Linked DNA regions of Homo sapiens: region 2 is linked to region 1. Evidence: promoter capture Hi-C in human tissues and cell types (Jung and others, 2019). All regions are on one chromosome and are shown on one strand. Each heading gives the region's core, a stretch centred on a gene start or on the middle of the fragment in contact. The rest is flanking DNA. Distances are from core to core; before and after follow the strand shown.

Region 1 (7,033 bases), core at 2,654-5,153:
TCTCCCTCTATCAATATCAGCCTGTGATATTCCCATCATGTCACGCCTGTCTGATGAGTGGTGTAAGGTAGAGACCTGCAGCAGCAAGCAAGGCTCACTTTCTGCCTCTGCTCCTATTCTGTTTCTCTGAATTGAAAAGATGGTCTGGTGATGAGTGTGTTTGCTAGAAGACCCTTGTTCTGGGTGTATATAAAGCACTGTACTTGTCTCCATTTCTTTATCTTCCATCTGTTTTTCCAACCACCGCAGTCATCCTGCCCTACCCCAACCACTCCACTGAAACTGTTCACTGTCAGTTCACCAAGAACCAAATTGCAAATTTCATAGGTAACAACAATGTTTCTAAAATTTGAGTGTGCTTGTGGATCTTGTTACAATGCAGATTGTGATTCAGTTTACTGGGGTGGGGCCTGAGATTCTGCATTAGAACCAGCTCCCATGAGATGTCTAAGCTGGAATCAGTGGACTGCACTTTGAATAGCAAGGCATTAGCCCTCACCATAATCGTTCACCTTCCTGAAATTCTCTACTCCTTTGGGTTTTGCTACACCATTCTCTCCTGGCTTCCCTCCTCGCTAACTGTTCCTCCTAAGCATCTTTTCTTCATTCTGCTTTCTGCTTGTTCTTTAAAGGTAAGTAAATTCCCTGAGTTTCATTCTCAACTTATTTCTCCTCTTCCTAGAGTGATGATTCTCAAACTTTAGTGTACAAAGGAAGTCAGCTGAAAAATGTTATCAAAATGGAGCTCCCTAAGCTTCATTCCAAAGGTTCTGATTCAGTAGGTATGGGGTGGAGTCTCTTAGTCAGCATTTTTAATTCTGCTAAAGATGTTTTTCTTTTTTAAAAAATAAATGTATATAAATATGGCATACGTAACCTCATATTGTCTTAATTAAACACGATGTATGTCATAACCTCATATTATCTTAAACACAATATTTATATATATTTAATTAGTAAAAGTTTGCTATAGTGAAGCAAACTAACATATCCATCATTTCATATAGCTATACTTTTTTGTTGTTTTTGTGGTAAGAGTAGCTAACATCTACTTATTTTACATGAAACCCATAGTACAATTTCATTACCTGTAGTCCTCATGTTGTACATTAGATCTCTAGACTTGTTCATCATATATATATATATATACACACATATACACACACACATACATATATATATATATATATATGCTTCTTTGTATCCTCTGACCTACATCTTCCCATACCCCCAGTCCCTGCCTCTGGTAATCACTGTTTTGTTCTCTATCTCTATATATTTGATTTTTTTTTTTACAAAGATTCTGCATATAAGTGAGACCAGGCAATATTTCTGTGTCTGGATTATAGCACATAGCATAATGTCCTCCAGGCTCATCTACATAGTGGCAAAAAGCAAGATCTATTTTTTAGGACTGAATAATATTCCATTGTGTATTTGTACCACATTTTTATCCCCTTGTCCATCAATGAATGCTTAAGTTGTTTCCATATGTTGGCTATTGTGAATAATGCTGCAATGAACATGGTAATACAGATATCTTTACAAAGTTGTGATTCCACTTCTGAGTATATGCCCAGAAGAGAGATTGCTAGATCATATGGTAGTTCTATTTTTAATTTTTTTACAATCATCCATACTGTTTTTCATAATGCTGTAGCAGTTGACATTCCCACCAACAGTGTACAAGAGTACTCTTTTCTCTACACTCTCTCCAACATTTATCTGCAGACATTTTGATAACAGCCGTCCTAATAAATATGAGGTGGTATTTCTTAGTAATTTTGATTTACATTGCCCTGAGGATTGGTGATGCTGAGCATATTTTCATAAACCTGTTGTCCATTTTTATGTCTTCTTTGGAGAAATGTCTATTTGGGCCTTTTGTCCATTTTGTATTGGGTTTGTTTTTCCACTGTTAAGTTTTATGAGTTCTTTATAAAATTTTTATATTAAACCCTTAGGGTGCTCATTTATTTTCATTACTTTAACCGAACCCTAGATGCTGGGGGTTCCAAATTGAACCTACATCCCAGCCTTATTTATGAGTTTAACTGACTATTTAATATTTTAATCTGGATATCCAAAAAGTTCAAAACGTTCAAATTAATTTTGTTATTTTGTTCCCAAATCTCTAAATCTCTCTTTTTTTTTTTTTTCTGAGACAATGGCATCATCATCTAAACAGAAGAAATCTGGTTAGAATTTGTGCCCTGCAAATACTTGCCTACAAGTCTCTGTCTACAATCACACTTGACATATAAATCACCTGGGAGAGCTTGCTAAAAATGCTGAGTCAGAAACTCCTCAAATGCTTATTCATTAAATCTGGAGGAGGCCCATGAACCTGCATTTTTAATGAATCTTCCCCTAGTGGTTCTGATGAAGATGGCCCCGAACAACTATTTCTAAAAATGCTGTCTGTCCTAGGGATTCCTCCAGTTATTCCTAGCAATAGGACCACAAAGGCTTTGAAAGCATTTTTCACAACAGAGGACTTGGCGGTGGGAATAAGCGATAGTTTAGTCTTCCCCATAATCTTTAGCAGAGCCTCCCAAAGCTACTCTAAATAACAGTGCAAACTAAGCAAAATCAGTGCACTCCTATCTAAAGTTAGTATCAGTTTAAGTCACCAGCCATTCCTTTCCTAACAATATTGACACCCCAAGCCCTTCCTGTACAGATATTCCTGGACTAATGATTTGCCACCATGCCAGTAACTCTTAAAGAATGCTTGCTTGCCCTTCCCTCTAATTTTACTCCCTTTGGCCTTATTCCCATGAGGACACATTACTGATTTAAGAAATTGAAGAGCAAGGCTTATAAATACCTCAAGTAGCCAGTACATACCTCTATAGTGGTGATATCTACTGTATATGTCTTTCTAAGGAAATTTTTCAGACCACCTCCACTAGAGGAAGCTCAATTGAGAGAATTTTTATCATAAAGATCCCTGGTTTGTATTACAGTATTTTAAAAATTAAACTGTTTGAAACTGGATGAATTTGCTTTATTGCCTTAAAAAATCCTAATTTGGTGTTTTCTTTAACTGTCCTTTAATGCATGTTATGCCTCTAGGTTCAGAAGTGAAATGATTTTTGTTTAAGTTTATTAGAATAAAATTGGAGTTCAGCTGGTCACTTTGAGGCATGGCAACCAAGTGACTGATCTCTTTTTAATCTTTAATAAGTTCCATTATTCACAAATTGATGGCATTTAAGGAATCTGAAGTAATGCAAACCACATAACTGTGAAATATTTGAATATTCTAATGCTCAGAATGAAATATTTTTCATACTGATTAGGCCTCGAAACTGCGTTTGAATGAAAACATTGTCAAACAGAGGTTGTAGTGCAAATAATATAAAACATAAGTATAAAGGGTGTTGATTCATTTTAATTCTATCTCTTTGCAAACTGAATATGCAAAATGTCATCTTGATGTTCAGTCTCCCTCCTCTGTCTGCATATCAAAATGTATAATGAGGAGGTACACTTTTTTCACTGAGAAAAATCAGTGGGAACTAAAAAACAGGCAATTTACCTAGGTTTTACTATGAGCATTTTGCTTTGATTTCAGGTAGGTGAGGCATTGATTAACTTTATTTTTCTAAATCCAAAGCAAGACTTTTTACTTCAGCTGAGGTCATCTGCAGACATTTTCCATAGTTGGGAGCTATTTTTTGAAATATCTTGCATCTCTGCTTTTCTCTCCATATTTCTTTTCTCCACTCGCTTCCTCTCTCCCAGCTGCAGGGATTCGTCCTCTAAAAGAGTGGAGGTGGGAGGGAACAAGAAATGGAAGCAAAGCAGGGAGCATGAGCTAGAGAATGCCAGGATCTGGCTTTTGTTATTGGTTGGCTGCCGCCTGATGGATAGACGAGGGAGGAGTGTACTCTCTTCAGTGTGTTCTGACGGAGCCGAAGTACAGAAACCATATTTACAGGTAAGAGCGAAAAATAAAAAAAAAGAAAAGAGAATTCTTTTTTTCTTTAAAAGAGAATGCTTCTTAATTTTTACGGAAACAATTTTATAGTAGGAAAATTATTCTGAGGACATTTTCTGAAAGTGTGTCCCTTTTATTACTTGAGGAAGCTTTGCAATGAGCTTGCTGTTCTTTCTCTCTGCAAAATCCTTAGCTGATTAAAAACAAAACAAAACAATCACCAGAGGCATGTCTTATCCTAAATAACTTTCTATGCAAGTGTCACTGAAGCAAAATTAATAGATAAAATGAATCATCATGTGTCTCTTCAAAAATGTTTAATTCAAGCTTGTTACTAGGAATCGCAGGAAGGATGAGAAAACCTCGGTAAATTCCACAGGTCCTGAGAAAATGGAGCCTTCTGTGAATATACAATATAAAATTTCATGTGATGGCTTTTAATATTGACAATACAGTAAAAGGCTTAGGAAAACTATTTTTGCAGGTTGTAGACTCTTTTAGCATTAATTTAGAATGAATGATTTGTGTGCATTTAAGCCCTGTTATTTAACTTACTCCTCTTGATAAATCTCATGTTGTTCAATATTTGCATTATTTTATTCAGCAAACTTTAAGCTTATGTGATAATTAAACAATGGTTTGTCTCTACTTGTTAACTTACATGGAGCCATTTTTATTTTAAAGCACAGAAACCTAATTTTGAAAGATTAAACATTGCTGTAAAAAATAGCATCTTAACAGTCATGTTTCATGGGTAGTTTAATTTATCAGTCAAACACATCTAGATAAGAATTCCATCAGAGCATTTATATTGTTGATAATATCTCTAGGCAATTTTTTTTTAGCAACTTTACTAGGTGCTTGTATCTCCTAATATGGTCCTTTATATTGCCTTAGGGAAAAAAGGGACAAGTTCTAAGTATGTAGAATAAATAACACACTTGCAGTAAAAACATACAAAAAAACTGAACTCCCAGTCACTTAATTCTTTACTTTAATTCATAAATACAGGTCATTTAACGGTGGTAGAACCTCATTAAAATTGAACTTTCAAGAATTATGACTGACTTCAGTACACTGGCCATCGATTAATACCTGTTGATTATAATAATAAAATAAAAGTCTTTCAATGAGGTAAATAATTTGTTCCTACATATTTTAATACCTTTTTGAATGAATCAAAACTAATAGGAATGACTATATAATTTCTAAATATTTTTTGCTATTGTTTTTCTTTTTGTTTATTGTTTTTCAAATTTTTTTATTTATTGTACTTTTTTTGTTTGAGAGATTTTGTCTTTGAATAAACAGACACAAATATAATAGTTCTTGGAAAATTAAAATGAGTGAGAAAATTGCTGAATATTAGTATGGATTATCTAAATGAATTGAGAATTACCTTAAATTTCCTAAAAGTACTAAATATAGTTAATAACATGTTTATATGGTTAAGTGTCATAATGAACCAAGTAAATATTCTGGTATGGTTGATTTTGAACTGTTTCTGGATTTCAAAAATTATTACATAATACTGAAATTTTGGCATGTTTCTAATTATTGATGGATCTTTCCGATTTTGTTTTTTTAAGCAAAACAATGGTTGAAATTAATCCACCCCTCACCCCAAGATTGAAATTCAAGGTGATATATAAGACCAGATATTCATCTCCTAAAATGTATTAGAGGAAATAAATCAATGCAGCTATATTTTTTAGAAATTATAAATTCTGAGTAAAGCTACCTCCAGGAATGAAGGGGAATTGATGAAAATTAGAGAGCAGAGTTCCACATGGTTTTAAATTATTCTGTTTCCTTGGAAACCAGCTGCTGCAGATGCATTTTGCTTTCTTTGGCTAAAAATATCACCCTTTTAATAATCACTAAGGGAGAGGACTGAATAAAACCAGAGTATATTGTTGCTGCTTTTTATAATTTCCTTAATGGTTCACATATTTTGGATGAAAAGTAGATAAACCCTTTCTCAATCAGCATTTCCTATCAGCCACTGGCAGACGTCTGCAAGTCTTATAAAAATGAGACAACTGGGGTAGCTTTTACTGCAGAGTCCACAGGAAGAGATAGAGAGAGAGAGAGAATGTGTGCTGGAGTGGAGACAAGAGAGAAAAAAAAAGCATGAAAGAAAACAGTTAAGAGGTTACTGTCCAAGTGAAGGATGAAACAAGGCAAATGAAAACCATGTAAGGCTTTCAGTGAGAAATGGGAAGGCATCACCATTTTTTTTTCCTTTGGTACAAACATTTTTAAGATTTAAATGTAGGTTTTTAATGGAGCTCACTATATACAGCTTTGTCCCCTTTTCACAACACTCTTTCCTTTTTCTCTTTATGTTTGCAGTGGTTTGCAATATAATGAATAATACAATAAATTAAGAAGTATTTTTTAATGTATCAATCACTTTAATCATAAAGAGAGAAGCTTGGTATATGTCCAGGCTATGGATAGTGAGGAGCATTCAATACACATTTTGACATTAGAATAAGAATTTTTTAAACTTAACGTCCAAACCATGTTTCATTAATGCAATTATTTCCTTACCTTTGTAATCTATTTAATATGTATAAAAAATTACACATTCCAACAACCTAAAAGCTATTTGTGTTAATGTTAAGGTAATTAATTTAAAATTTAATATAAATCACTGTAAATGCACATATATCCTTTTTGCTTTATTTGAAACATTTTTGCTTTCTTTGAAAATAAACATTACTTTTATGTAGCTTTTCTCTATACAAAAAAAAATCACAATTATCATCATATTCTACCCTAGGCAATTCCTTAATTTAAAACATTTTTATTATAAAATTACATGCTTCAAAGGCAGCACTGTCATCCCATACACCATTTTTTTCAAATCTCTCAGCTATTTGTTAAGAGGAAAAATCATCATAAAGCTGTTAACAGCTTTCCTATTATTTTTGTTATAATTCAGATGAGATTCCTAACTCTTATTTTCTCTTTACAACTCATTTAAATATTTGTGACATATCATACTTTATTTTCATAATATTAACCTTAGTCTATTAGATTCAATGTTAGCAATGTAGCAAATAAAGCACCACATGCTTA
Region 2 (7,033 bases), core at 1,798-4,297, 200 kb after region 1:
TTAGTGTCAGAGCTTCCGGAATGCATCCCCAAATGGAGGCCCACTTTAACATCAAATGGAAAACTTTGATGTGCTCAATACCTGCTCTGTCACATACACAACCTATTTTGACAGAAAATAAACCTAAACAAAATGATGGAGACTGAAAGGGTGGGCTGCAGCCCTGGGCAAATGCAATACATTTAAGAATATGTTCTTTCAAAATATTGTTGGTGTTTTAGTTTAAATGGAACAACTAAGCATATGTAATCAAATCTTTAGTTTCTTTCTCTGCAACAACCATTGGACTGTTAATTTAGGGAAGTCAATTGCACTGATTCTACTGATTAAAATGTGGGGTATATTCAGTGATGTGCTGGAGCCAGCTTGTTAAAGTTGCTCACTAAAGTGGATTGTGTACTTCTCTTCCCAATGGTAGCTTGAAATCAGCTATGATGGGTGTATTTAAACCATGAGATTTGGCAAACATGACAAATTAGATTTTTTTTTCCAGAGTGTCAGTTGTTAAATATTTACTAGCATTCTACTAGATCCGTCTGGCTTATTAGCTACCACTGAAAGAAGCGATGTTGGTCTAAATCAGAGGGTAGGAGAAAAAAATTTGAGAGGAAATTTTCATATGTCTTATATGTCGATACTATCATCATCCCTCCTGGTGACTGTGTGGTAATATGTATTCCAGGGTCCTATTGTGACTTCAGGTTGTTGAAATTCTCATAAGCTAACAAAACAACCAAACATTCCTAGTTCTTCGAGGGTATAATTAAATTGGTTCCAGTTTGCCACCTGCAATTAACAGCTAATGAGCTAAAGAACTATATTATAAGATGTGACTCAATATCCAAATGATATACATATTTTCCTTTAGTTTTCCAGAGACCTTACAGACTAGGTCACTGTCCAACTTGTACCACAAAACCAGGAATTTATTGTATTAAAAACATATCCTATGCTTTCTAGCCTCTTATTGAACAATTCTGGTGATCCAGAGCACACAGCTTTTTGAAATAGCGCATTTCATTTTGCAGCTTTAATTGTTAGAAAGCTCTTCCTAACATTGAGCAACCTGCTGCCATGTGACCCGAATTCTGCCCCATAAGTACACAGAGTAAATCTTCCCTATTTTCCGAATTCTGGCTGTTTGAAAGCAATGGTGATGGACATGCAAATATTTGAAGAAAGCTTATGGGCTCTATATGTTTCTGTTCTGCAGGATTAAACATCCTTGGTTCTTTCCACTGATCCTCCTGGGGCATGGCTTTTAGGCTCTTTGTTGCCCTGGTTTCCTTCCTCTGGATACAGGGCTATTTATGTCTCCTTTATAATATGGTACTTGACCTGGACATGGTGCTCCAGGAATATGTTACGTTATCTTCTCCCAAGTTCGGGATGTTCTTTCCATGGAATACACTAAGGATATAGTGGCTTTTGGACTGTGATCAATTTTTTTTTGTTCTTAGTAAGCTGGTGGTAAGCAAAAAACAAACAAACAATAAATAAGCTAAACTAAACAAAAAACAAGCAAACAAAACTCAGATCTTTTAAGCCAACTCTGCATTATGATATAAACCAAAATTTTGTAACATCTCCATGGCAAAAGCCCTCTTTAGTGCTAGACATGGCCTGTAGAGAGTGATCAATAAAGTTTTGTTACATTTAATTTCAATAAACTTGGTCTTGTCATCTGTAGATGTGATAAGCTTGCCTTTTAGGTCTTCATCCAGGTTATGGACTTAAAATTGCATTTAACAAAACAGGGCCAAGTTTAGGATATCCTCTCAAGGTAGCTATCCTCAAGAGTAAAAGGAGAAGCACCCCACCATGACCCCCAGGGAGAAACATTGCCAGGGTGCGCCACTGCTACTGATAGGATGTATAGATGCCGTTATCCTTCATTCCTGGCCTCCTTGTTGGTACAAAAGAGGCTGAGCATCACTGGTATTAGAGGCATTTTTACTGCTCAGCTAACTAAAAGTCATATATCCAACCATATTCTTATTAATCAGATTACATTCCATTTTCCACATGAAGAGCATAAGAAATTCTGTCAGAGTGAAAGAATGGGAAATTCTCAGAACTATATTCTTGTCTTAGAGACAAAATAAGAAATTCTCTGGCCGGGCAGGGTGGCTCGCACCTGTAATCCCAGCACTTTGGGAGGCAGAGGCTGGAGAATTGCTGGAGGCCGGGAGTTAAAGACCAGCCTGGGCAACATAGTGAGACCCCTTCTCTACAAAATAATTTAAAATTTAGCTGGGCAGTTGCATGTGCCTGTAGTCCCAGCTACTTGGAAGGTTGTGATGAGTGCATCACTTGGGCCCTGGAGTTCAAGGTTGCAGTGAGCTATGATTGTGCCATTGTACTGTAGCCTGGGTCCCAGGCGACAGAGTGAGATTCTGGGAAAAGAAAGAAAGAGAGAGAGAGAGAGAGAGAGAGAGAAAGAGAGAAAGAGAAAGGAAGGAAGGAAGAAAGGAAGCAAGGAAGGAAGGAAGGAAAGAGAGAGAGAAAGAAAGAGAGAGAGGAAGGAAGGAGGGAGGGAAGGAAGCAAAGAGAGAGAGGAAGAAAGAAAGAGAGAGGAAGGAAGGAAGGACGGAAGGAAAGAGAGAGGGGAAGAAAGAAAGAGAGAAAGGAAGGAAGGATAGAGAGGAAGAAAGAAAGAGAGAGAGAGGAAGGGAGGAAGGAAGGAAAGAGAGAGGAAGAAAGAAAGAGAGAGAGAGAAAGGAAGGAAGGAGAGAGAGGAAGAAAGAAAGAGAGAGAGAAAGGAAGGAAGGAAGGAAGGAAAGAGAGAGGAAGAAAGAGAGAGAGAGAAAGGAAGGAAGGAAGGGAGGAAAGAGAGAGAGGAAGAAAGAAAGACAGAGAGGAAGGAAGGGAGGAAAGAGAGAGAGGAAGAAAGAAAGACAGAGAGAGGAAGGAAGGAAAGGGAGAGAGGAAGAAAGAGAGAGGAAGGAAGGAAAGGGAGAGAGGAAGAAAGAAAGAGAGAGAGAAAGGAAGGAAGGAAGGAAAGAGAGAGGAAGAAAGAGAGAGAGAGAAAGGAAGGAAGGGAGGAAAGAGAGAGAGGAAGAAAGAAAGACAGAGAGGAAGGAAGGGAGGAAAGAGAGAGAGGAAGAAAGAAAGACAGAGAGGAAGGAAGGGAGGAAAGAGAGAGAGGAAGAAAGAAAGACAGAGAGAGGAAGGAAGGAAGGAAGGAAAGAGAGAGGAAGAAAGAGAGAGAGAGGAAGGAAGGAAGGGAGGATAGAGAGAGATGAAGAAAGAGAGAAAGGAAGGAAGTAAGGGAGGAAAGACAGAGAGGAAGAAAAGAGAGAGGAAGGAAGGAAAGAGAGAGTGGTGTTAAGAGAGAGAGAAAGGAAGGAAGGAAAGAGAGAGGAAAACAGAAAGAGAGAGGAAGGAAGGAGAGAGAGGAAGAAAGAAAGAGAAAGGAAGGCAGGAAGGAAAGAGAGAGAGGAAGAAAGAAAGAGAGAGAAAGGAAGGACGGAAGGAAGGAAGGGAGGAAAGAGAGAGAGTAAGAAAGAGAGAGAGGAAGAAGGAAAGAGAGAGAAAAAGGAAGGGCGGAAGGAAGGGAGGAAAGAGAGAAGAAGAAAGAAAGAGAGAGAGGAAGGAAGGAAGGAAGGAAAGAGAGAGAGGAAGAAAGAAAGAGAGAGAGAGGAAGGAAGGAAGGAAAGAGAGAGAGGAAGAAAGAAAGAGAGAGAGAAAGGAAGGAAGGAAGGAAAGAGAGAGAGAAAGAAAGAGAGAGAGAGAAAAGGAAGGAAGGAAGGAAAGAGAGAAAGAAAGAAAGAGAGAGAGAAAAGGAAGGAAGGAAGGAAGGAAGGAGAAAGAAATTTTCAGGACTAGAGCACTGGTTTTCCAACTGTAATCCATGGGGTCTGAGATTAGGGACCAGGGCAGAAAGCCCAAGATGCAGATCTCATTCTCACTTTTATCTTCCATATGTTAAGCTTCTGCGTGGAATTTTAATTGAAAAATGGACACATTCCCTGTAGTAAACTTAGGCAATAGTCTAATAATTACTGCTCTTTTTTGTCACATGTACAGAGACCATCTTTTTAAGTATTTTTTTCTAGAATATTGTTATTCAGAACTAGCTTTTTTTTAAAAAAAATTGTTCTCACTTTGATTATCTTGTAATTCTTTACTCCATGACTCTTCAAAACTGTTACACTGCACAACCATAACTTCAAGCTGTTTCATTGCCTCAAAACATAAATTGTCTGGGCCTGGAGATTCTTCCATAAAACAGCGGAGTCCTCTTTCGCTGTCTCCTCACCTCCCTTTTGCTTTAAATCCTTCCTGACATGCCTGTTCTCACATTTTTGGTTTGAAGGTTTTTCTTTTTGAAAAAGACTATGGAATCTGAATAGGAAGTAAATAATTCTGCTTTGTGACTTTGTACCTAGCCTTCCTTTTCATGTCTATTCTCTCTTCCACCCCACCACTTCAATAACTTGCACATATATTTTGTGCTCTTACAACATTATATCATATTTATTACACGGTCATCTCCCCCAGCAGACTGGAACCTCCTTATATGGCAGAACTGTTGTACATCTATAAAACTCCATACCTAGTACAGTGCTTGGCAATATGCCATAGTGATTAAGAATATTCACTTATTCATTTTAAAAATGTATTAATCAATTACTATGGGACTGGTAATTATCAAGGTGCAAAGGATACACTGGTAAACAAGACAGATGCCATCTCTGCTCTCAACATGCTCACAGTATGATAGGGGAGATAAACATTAAATCAATCACCAAAGCTAATATAGTCTTACAACACTAGACCACAGGCTATACAGATTTCTCAGGCCAGGATAAATAAGTTAAAAGTCAGCTGAGAAAATCAAAAGAGTAATACGTTAGCTCAACCAGCTTTATCTGATGTCCTCTCCATTAGAAAGGCCACCTCCACATGCCCAAAAAGTAGGACCCAAAGGAAATACTAACTGGTGAGATGTTGTATCTTTGGTTTGCTCTCTGTTTTCTTCTTTCCTGAGCTCTTGCTTTCTGTGTCTGAATCATATCCTTTCTTTCTTTCTTTCTTTTTTTTTTTTTTTTTTTTGAGACAGAGTCTCGCTGTCACCCAGGCTGGAGTGCAGTGGTGTGATCTCAGCTCACTGCAACCTCCACCTCCTGGATTCAAGCAATTCCCTTGCCTCAGCTTCCCAAATACCTGGGACTGCAGGTGCCTGCCATCAATCCTGGCTAGTTTTTGTATTTTTAGTAGAGACAGGGTTTCACCATGTTGGCCAGTCTGGTCTTGAACCCCTGAGCTCGTTATCTGCCTGCTTCAGCCTCCCAAAGTGCTGGGGTTACAGGTGTCAGCCACCACGCCCAGCCCATATCCTTTATTTCTGAGTGAGCTATTTCTAGGGAAGCTTATTCTGCTCTTTTATCTCTTGCCCCACAGCACTGAGATCAGCTCTTAGAGTGTACTGCCACGTTGTCTTTTTTTGTTTCCTTTTGTTCAGTTTTTCTACCATTGCTCTTAAGAATTTTTACTCCAACTGGTCTTGAAAGCATGGCTCAAGCTTTGGAGTCAAATAAACCTAAGTTTGATCTTCAACATCATCATTAATTGGCTATTTAGCTAGACTTTGGCAAATTATATTCTCCGAACTTCAATTTTCTCAACTACAAAAAAATTTTACTTTATAAGATTGTCATGCAAATTAGGTGAGATAATTTATATACAGTATGGAACTTAATGGCTAGTATTTACTATATGGCAGCTTAGGTCATTCTCAACATCATCATCCTTATTATAATATGCAGTAATCAGTGTCTGTGAAGTTGAATTAGTTTTTCACATTCTTGTTTCTGGAAATCACTCTCTTTTTCACACGTGTGAATAATTCAGTAATGACCAGAAAATTTTGTTAGTAAACATAGCTTTTAAGTGCTAAAAAGAAGTGTTTTTATTTTTGTTTTTTGTTTTATTTTGTTTTGCCCTGGCATTTTAGTCAATCTATACTTTTAGTATTGTTTCTCTCTTCTAATCATTTTATTAGTTGAATTGAATTAGGTGTTTGGGGGCCCTTGATGGCACCAAAAATTTCATCTCATTAAAATTTATGGAAGAACTCATTCACAACATGATATGGTAAAAACAAACAAAAAGTTGAGCCTTGATTTTTATTTGGGATCCCTATATTTGGCTCAAAGCTGTCTGGGTATCATTCCACTGATTCTGACAGTAATGTGTCCCATCCCTCAGGTATGTTTAGATGGGCAAAATGATTTATTTCTATAGGGCTTTGGGAATGGTTTTCTCACAGTTATCAGTGCATACGAATCTGCAAAATTAAGATGTTTGGTTTCCATCTGTCAAAAAAAAGTTATAGTGGTTTTATTTGTAGAGAGTCTGAACAAGTTTACACAGTGGCTTAAGAACTAAGTCCATCTTAAGTGTCATCATTGAAACCAAGCATACACACATGTGCATGCGTGCCCACTCACACATGCCCACCCCACACATACATACACACAGGGGCCTTGACCTGGAGATCCTAACAGTACAACATAGATACATGCATACAGAGATAGGATAAACATAAAATAAAGATGATTAAGTCAAATCATAAATTAAGTCAGTATTCATCACCTGTAAACTAGCTAAGCCAAATGGCAAAGAAGAATTTCTCTCTGGATAACTGCTATTTATCTACTTTTAGCTCTTCAATTATGGACCAAGACAGGGAGTGATCCCATGCAAGTTCAATCATCTGGATAATTTATAGGTCAATGACTGTATCATGCTCTGTCCTATCTCAGGCCTTTGAAACTATTGTTGCTCAGCATGGAATGCCTTCTGTCACCACTGTTCATTTAACTGCTACTCTATTTTCAGATTTGAATATTGAAGTCTTCCCACTTCACCCCACTGCCAGCCCCACTGCCACCCTCCTACATAACCCTCAAATGCCCCATGTTCACCCTAAGCTAGGAAATCCTTATGAACTAGGTTAAAATTACTAGACTCCTTGTCTCTTTACTCCAGTTCATTGGGATCAAGGGCTGTATGTTGTGCACCAGTA

The links. The method cuts DNA at HindIII sites, captures the fragments that hold promoters and counts their contacts. A contact is called where the count stands out against the background at its distance.
Region 2: a fragment that was not itself captured here is called in contact with the fragment with the promoter of CSRNP3 in region 1 in 2 of the 25 tissues and cell types used here (hippocampus and mesenchymal stem cells).

Annotation. Positions count from the first base shown.
Region 1 is chr2:165,465,795-165,472,827 of GRCh38, forward strand. It overlaps CSRNP3 (cysteine and serine rich nuclear protein 3), which reads left to right and starts at 3,904. Exons shown (of 7, transcript NM_001172173.2): 1 at 3,904-3,946. The HindIII fragment of the contact is 6,911 bases long and covers 1-5,471 here.
Region 2 is chr2:165,663,364-165,670,396 of GRCh38, forward strand. All of the region lies in intron 5 of CSRNP3 (cysteine and serine rich nuclear protein 3), which reads left to right. Among named protein-coding and RNA genes, the nearest start is that of GALNT3, 130 kb to the right of the region's middle. The HindIII fragment of the contact is 3,212 bases long and covers 1,442-4,653 here.